Linked DNA regions of Homo sapiens: region 1 is linked to region 2. Evidence: promoter capture Hi-C in 16 types of primary human blood cells and fetal thymus (Javierre and others, 2016). All regions are on one chromosome and are shown on one strand. The core of a region is centred on a gene start or on the middle of the fragment in contact, and the rest is flanking DNA. Distances in the headings are between cores, read along the strand shown.

Region 1 (3,557 bases), core at 254-2,753, 1.4 Mb before region 2:
ATTCTGCATTCAGCACATTTACAAGCTTTGAAATATCGGACATTGGCAAGCAAGCACTAACATTTTATAAGTAGCAGTTTGCATCCAGGTTTGAGGTAATGTAATCCAACATGCACGAGAACACAGTCTAGGTCCCCTTCTCCCTTCTAAGCATAGCAGAAGGATTAGGAATAATGAATGGTGTGAATTTTGCCACCTAGAGGGTTTCATTTTGATACCTGTTACACAGTCCTCTTGAGCACTGTGCTCATTTTTCCTATTGCTGAGATATGGAAAATAAAACAGTAATAGGAACGTGCACTGACAACACACCATGTCAATGCCCTAAAACGCAAAGTCTTGGAGAGGGTTCCATAATGGCTTCAGTAGAAGCATAGCTCATTCCCTGCTTTGCTAATCAATTTTCTGCATGCCATGTTCTCCCCGTTATACCTCATCCCTTAGGCTACTCTTGTAGCCCAAGTCAACCACACAGGTGATATACACCGGTGGAATAGGTCAGGGCAATTTCTTGAGGCACTGGAGGGGGAAAACCTGGGGTCTCTCCTCAGCCCTCCAATGTGTCCATAATGCTCCTCATGTGCCACAGGCTCCGTGCCACCATGGAATTTGATCTGGAAGTCTAGAGCCCTTTTCAGGGAGTTGTTTAAGCCTTTAGTCCTTGTTTCTTCACTCTTAGTGTAATTCTGTGTCATTTTAGAGCCAGAAACACTGTTGTAACAGTCAAATGTAGTAATTAAGACTGTAGTATCAGATCACTGGCTTTTCAATCTTTTTCTAAAAGGCTCTATGATCTCAGGCAAATTTACTGAACTCTTCTTGCTGTAATATGGGGAGACAGTGGCCCTCACTTCATAGATTGTAGTGAGATTAAATAAGTTAATATATGTAAAGCTTTAATAAAGTACTTAGCAAATAGTATATACAGTACTATGCAAGTTTTAGCTATAAAATGACAATAACATTTCACATAAAAAGGTTACTATTAATTGTTACTACCATTTCCTAATTATTGATTTATGTAATAAGCTATGCCCCAAACCTACCAGGTTTAACTCTTGGTATTCAGTGTGAACTGAATTATATTCCCCTCAAATTCATTTATTGAAACACTAATGTGCTGGCATTAGAAGGCAAGGCATTTGGGAGGTAATTAGGTCATGAAGGTAGAATCCTCATGATGGGATTAATGCCCTTATTAGAACAGACTGAAGAGAAATTTTACTCTGCCATGAGAGACACATAAAAAAAAAAAAAAAAGATGAAGTCTACAAGCCAGGAAGCAAGCTCCCACCAAGAACTGAATCAGCCAGCACCTTGTTCTTGAATTTCCCAGCCTCCAGAACTGTGAGAAATAAATATTAGTAGTTCAAGTCACCCAGACGGTGATATTTTTTGATATTTTGTGACAGCAGCCCATACAAACCAAGGCTATCTTCAAGCAAACAATTTAGAAGTTCACAATTTTTTTTCTGTCAAATATGTGGTGTTCGCAAATTGAAAGCATCTTGGATTTCAGGTTAGTATCCCTAGTACATATTTTAAAACTTATTTAGAGATTCAATTGACTTATTTTATTTGAGTCTATGTCCACCTTTCTCCTGAGGCAGAGAATGCCTCTGCCACAGGTCTCAAAATCCTCTGGTTAACACAAAAATTACAGAAAATGCAAAATTCCAGCCTAGGAATTAAACACTCTCATGTGTAAATTTGTGTAATGTAGAAGTTTAATAGCAAAGAAAGAGAAATTGTTATACCTATCAATCAAGCAGGAGCTTCTCCTTAAAATCTTTCAACATGAATCACATGGCTTAGCAGGGGTAAAATATTTTAGGAGCCTCCTCCTAGAGGATCTCACTCAATCTTACTCCCTTGTAGAACAGGCGATATCTTCACCATGCGCACAATGAAATCAATACTCAGAGAAGGCAGATAATTCTCCACGAAGCCAGAAAACTAATAAATGAACAGTAAGTAACAACACAATCAAATACCCTCTTCATATAGATCACTCATTTTAGAATTTTGAAATTGAATCATGCACTGTGTAACTGTGCAGTGGAATGCTTTCTTTTTGTTTTTTTTTCTTGATTCTCAATATAAGAAGCTTATAAATTTGTCTTTTTAATGGTTGGGATCATATCTAATAAATTTAATGGTTGGGATCATATCTAATGAATTGGCTGTACTAATGTGGAAGCTCTGTAGACTCAATAATGATTGATCTGTTTTCCTCCGCTCTATGAACTGCTGCCCAGAGGGTGCTCATGGCATTATCCACATGCATCCCTGTGCATCTAAATTCCTGAAGGAATGTGTATTCTAAGGCAAAATTCATAATGGTAATGTTGAAGAAATAAAAAGTAGCATATAAAAACTCTGAGTATAATTATTTAAAAAATTTTATTAGTTCAGGTCAAAAATTTCAGGAATAAGGTCATATTAAAACTTTGCATGGAAAAATTAACTTTAATTTGTACTAAGCCTTAGAGTTAAGTTTTAATAATTTCTATAAGGAAGAGCAGAACGAACCAAGATGAAAGTATCGTTTATGTGCTAGCACGTTTTTGTTATCCCAAAATAATTAGCAGAAGTAGATAAATTAGTTTAAGCTTTTACAGATCACTGTTCTAACATAAAGATGTACACCTGACTCATATAGAAATAAGGGATTCACTTTGTTCAGCTTTCTGGCAATGGGGGTTGGTGGGAGGCCCAATTTACATTGTGGAAGACGAGTAGCTTTAAAAAAGAAAAGTCAGGAAATGTCCAAACTTAATAGATACTATGGTAATGAGTATAAAGCACAGCAGAGGGAAGATAATAATAAACGTGTAATTGGCATCTGTGAAGAGAACATTATGACATTTTATTACTGGAAAATTGCATACCAAAATCTCTAGAAACATTGGCCATCACATCTTTGAAAACCACAAGCAAGTATATTTCATATGTGAATAAATCCATATACTCAGAACCACAGTTTTATGGTACTTAAGATGGATCTTTTGATATTGTAATGATGAAATAGGTCTCTCGAGGAAAGATGAAAAGGTAAAGCCAAGGCTTGTTTAAAAGATCAAAAAGAGAGATGCTGTGAATGCTCTCAGCAAATATGATGCTCTCTTTATCTGGATGCATTCCTGTTCTAAAGATAAATGGATATTTCTCAATAAAAATATAGAATCTTAACATTTTTGAAGTGTTGAGGAAAAACAAAGTGACAACAAAGTAAAGATATCTGAAGATAACAACAGTTCCTTGATTTCTTAAACAGTGCAAAGAAGTTAAAGTAGAAGGAAGTTAGGCCTTTGCACATTTAAATTTCATCAGGGCATCTTATAAAACTTTGGCAATTTTATTAGATCTTGGATTCCTCACCTAAAAATATTAATGTATGTACTAAACTAACTTTAAGTTCTCTTCATGCTCTTTATTATAAAAATATAGTACATTAACTTGGAGTACATCTTAGGGACATCTTGAAAACCATATTTTAAAAAATAATCTCTAATGGAGAAAGAAAGGTGTCTCTCTCTGACAATACAGGTGAAATT
Region 2 (3,454 bases), core at 135-2,634:
AATCTCGTATATTACTATCAGTTATTTGCTTAATGAAAAACCTATTTATTTCAACTAATGCTTTATGGTCCCTTCATATAAATTAGGATACGAAAATCTAGTTTAGCACTGTAGCGCCTTAGAAATCCTCCACACTGTTAAGAGCAGGGAATTGCTACGACACAGCCTAGAATCCCCTTAGCAGCGTGTCTGGAATTCTTCCAGATTCCGTCAAGCTTCAAAACTGAACAGCACCACCCACAAACCAACTTTTACCTGCCCATTCCCGGGCCTTCTAATATGCACTTCCCCCAGCCCAGGTCCCCCTACCCGGAACTAATGTTTAAAATTCTCGAGGCTCGTGGCACCCTTTAGTTGCATGTCAGTTAACAAATGCCACTTAAAAGCCCACCGAACTCCTCCCCCAGGACCTGGGGGCAATTTCATGACCTTGCAGGGTTACGGTTTCAGCAAGTGGTTTCAAGGTAGTGCTAGGTGTCCTTCCCTTCCCCGCCCTCAGACAGATCTGTACGGTCCCTTCTGCACCAAAACCACCCTCAGAGGCATCTAGGATGTTCGCCTTTGCTGTTGCAGCACCCAGCAAAGCGTCTGCAACACGGGAGGTGCTCGACGGCCGCGCTCTCTGACTCGATCGAATCTTAAAGGGTCACTCTGTCCAGCACTACAGGGTTTCAAAGGGCGTCAAGGACAAAAAGCACGACTTAACCTTCCCCTGGGCTATTGCTCAGGCTCCCGTCACCTTGCAGGCCCTGAGACTGGGGGCCTGGCTTGCAGTGGAAGTGGAAGCTCAGGAAGTGCTGATTAGCTGAGGGAACTCAAGACCGCCCAGACGTCAATTTGGACTCAGGCCGCAGTCCCGAGGTCCCAGGTGGCCCTCCGACCTCAGGGAACCGGGCGGGACCTTGCTCCGCCGGAGCCCGGCCCTGCGCACACCTTGCCCGACCTCAGAGCCGCTTCCTGCAGCCCCCGCTACCCGGCGCCTCCGACGGGCCAGGGGCCCAGCTAGGCCCTGCGACCCCACATCTGCCCCCGCGCCCATCTCCTCCTCCCTGCCCCGTGCCCAAGCTCTTCCATCCCTTGCGGTCCTGCCGATCTTCCCGCAAGCTGCCATACCATTGCGGCTGCAAGGTCCAGGCCGACAGCCCAGCGACACCCGCGCGAGAGAACATGGTAGCCACAGCCCTGCTGAAGGTCGGTCAGGCAGGCCTCAGCGCGCATGCGCCGAAGCTCCCCAGCGCGCCCCTCCCACCTTGCTCTCTTCTTCAGTCTCGTTTCTTCGCGCTACGGCGAGGGGAGTCTCGCGACCGTTGCAACCCAGTCTTCCCAGGCCCCACCTCCTTCCGCCTCTCAGCTGGGATTTGTCCCGCCCACCGCCGCCAGCCCGGTTCCGTTTCCGGCTGGCTGAGTACTGGGGTCCAGAAAGTGATCGCTGCCGTGGTCGCCATGGGGAAGTCGGATTTTCTTACTCCCAAGGCTATCGCCAACAGGATCAAGTCCAAGGGGCTGCAGAAGCTACGCTGGTATTGCCAGATGTGCCAGAAGCAGTGCCGGGACGAGGTGAGTGGGCCCGGAGTGGCCCCGTCTTCCCAGGAGGGCCCCTGGCAATCCAGGATCAGGTCCTGGACGCGGGGCTGAGGGCGCGGGGCTGGGGCTCCCGGGGTCCGGGTCGTGAGGCTTCTGAGGTCTGCAGTGGGCGAGTCAACTACTCAGCGCACGAGAGCCGTCCCTCCCCGCAGCCCCCGGGCCCAGCGGGCAGCCTGTGTTCTGCGACCCCTCATTCCTCCCCAGTCCGATCCCCACCACCAAAGAAATGAAATCAGAAAAGGTTTTGCACCCCTCACAGGGGCGGGGATACTGCAATACTAGACGCCCGGGCAATGCCAGTAACAGTCATCAGCTCTTACTTGACTTGACTCTTAAGAGAAACAGGGTGGTTAGGATTCACTCCTCTTTTGGGATCAGGTGAAAAAGGAGAGCTAAGCTCTTCCACACTACTCATCTAGCAAGCATTTATTGAGCACCTACACTGTACCGGGCACAGAATAATATTGTGGTTAAAATTATGGATTTATCTGGTTTATGGATATATCAGACTGTCAAAATTTAAAGTCAAGCAGGGCCACTTACCAACCGTGTGGTCTTGGGCAAGTTATTTACTTATATTCCCCTTTACTTATCTGTAAAGAGGGAATAATAATTTCACCTACTTGTAGGATTGTCGCTGAGTTTTAAATGAGTGAAGTATATATAGAGTGGCTCAAGGAGTCTGGGCAGATCTCGAAAAGCCTTATATGGCTACACTATGGAATTTACACTTTTCCCCATTAAAGAGGTGGTTGATTGAATGCTGTGCAGGCTAGTGATGTGATCATATTTTTCTCCGGAGATTGGACTGGATTGGGTAAGGGTGGAAGAACACTGAGGCAATTGGAATAATCTAATCCAGTGTTTCTGCAAGTGAAGGAAGAGGTATTTTAGGTAGGACTCATACTAATATTGATACAGTTACTCTCTTTAGTTCTATTAAGGAATACCTGTATATGCATTATCTAATGTCTTAGTCTGCTTGGACTGCCATATAAAGTGCAGTAGACTGGGTGGTTTAAATGACAGAAATTTATTTCTCACAGTTCTGGAGGCTGGGAAGTTCAAGATCAAGGTGCTGGCATGGTCAGATTCTAGTGAGGGTCCTCTTCTTGGTTTGCGAAACTGCCTCTATCCTCACAAAGCAGATAGAGCAAGCTCTAATAGAAACTTCTCTTCCTCTTTTTTTTTTTGAGATACGGTCCCACCCTGTTCATCATGCAGGCTCTACCCTTGTGACCTCATCTAAATCCAGTCATCTCCAAAGGCCCACCTTTTAATTCCATTCCCTTGGGGGTTAGGGTTCAATATATGAACTTTGAGGGGACGCAGACATGCAGTCTGTAACACCCAGACTTAACACTTTAAGTAATTTTGCCGTATTTACTTTTTAAAAAATATTTTAAGGTAAATACCAATATCAGGATATTTCACCTTTAAATACTTAAATAGGCATCTCTAAAATTTCAGGATACTTTTCTATATAACCATAGTATATGTCATCAACATAACACAATTAATAGAAGTTCCTCTTTATCATCTAATACACATTCACACTTCCTCAGTTGTCCTCCAACTGCTCCTTGAAATCAAGATTCGATCAAAAGCAATAGACTGTTATAGGTTTGGTTATTAGGACCTCCGCTCCCCTCTCCAGTCTCCCTCATCATCAACATCCTGCAACGAGGTGTTATATTTGTTACCATGGATGAAACTACATTGACACATCAGTATCATCCAGAATCCATAGTTTACATTAGGGTTCACTCTTGGTGTTGTACATCCTATGGGTTTTGACAAATGCATAATGATACGTATTCACCATTATAAAATCTCACAAAATAGTTTAACTGCCCAAAAAGTCCTCTGT

The links. Contacts are between HindIII fragments. The CHiCAGO score rates a contact against its expected background, and 5 or more counts as called.
Region 1: a fragment that was not itself captured here is called in contact with the fragment with the promoter of KIN in region 2 in 1 of 17 cell types (endothelial precursors); the score reaches 6.2 in endothelial precursors.

What each region holds. Positions count from the first base shown.
Region 1 is chr10:9,195,053-9,198,609 of GRCh38, reverse strand. It overlaps LOC101928272 (a long non-coding RNA gene), which reads left to right. Exons shown (of 5, transcript NR_120635.1): 5 at 1-1,244. Among named protein-coding and RNA genes, the nearest start is that of LINC00709, 79 kb to the left of the region's middle. The HindIII fragment of the contact is 1,213 bases long and covers 897-2,109 here.
Region 2 is chr10:7,785,923-7,789,376 of GRCh38, reverse strand. KIN (Kin17 DNA and RNA binding protein) reads left to right here and starts at 1,384. Exons shown (of 13, transcript NM_012311.4): 1 at 1,384-1,557. The coding sequence starts at 1,444. It overlaps ATP5F1C (ATP synthase F1 subunit gamma), which reads right to left and starts at 1,200. Exons shown (of 10, transcript NM_001001973.3): 1 at 1,114-1,200. The coding sequence starts at 1,169. RefSeq lists enhancers at 116-659, 1,112-1,431. The HindIII fragment of the contact is 3,793 bases long and covers 218-3,454 here.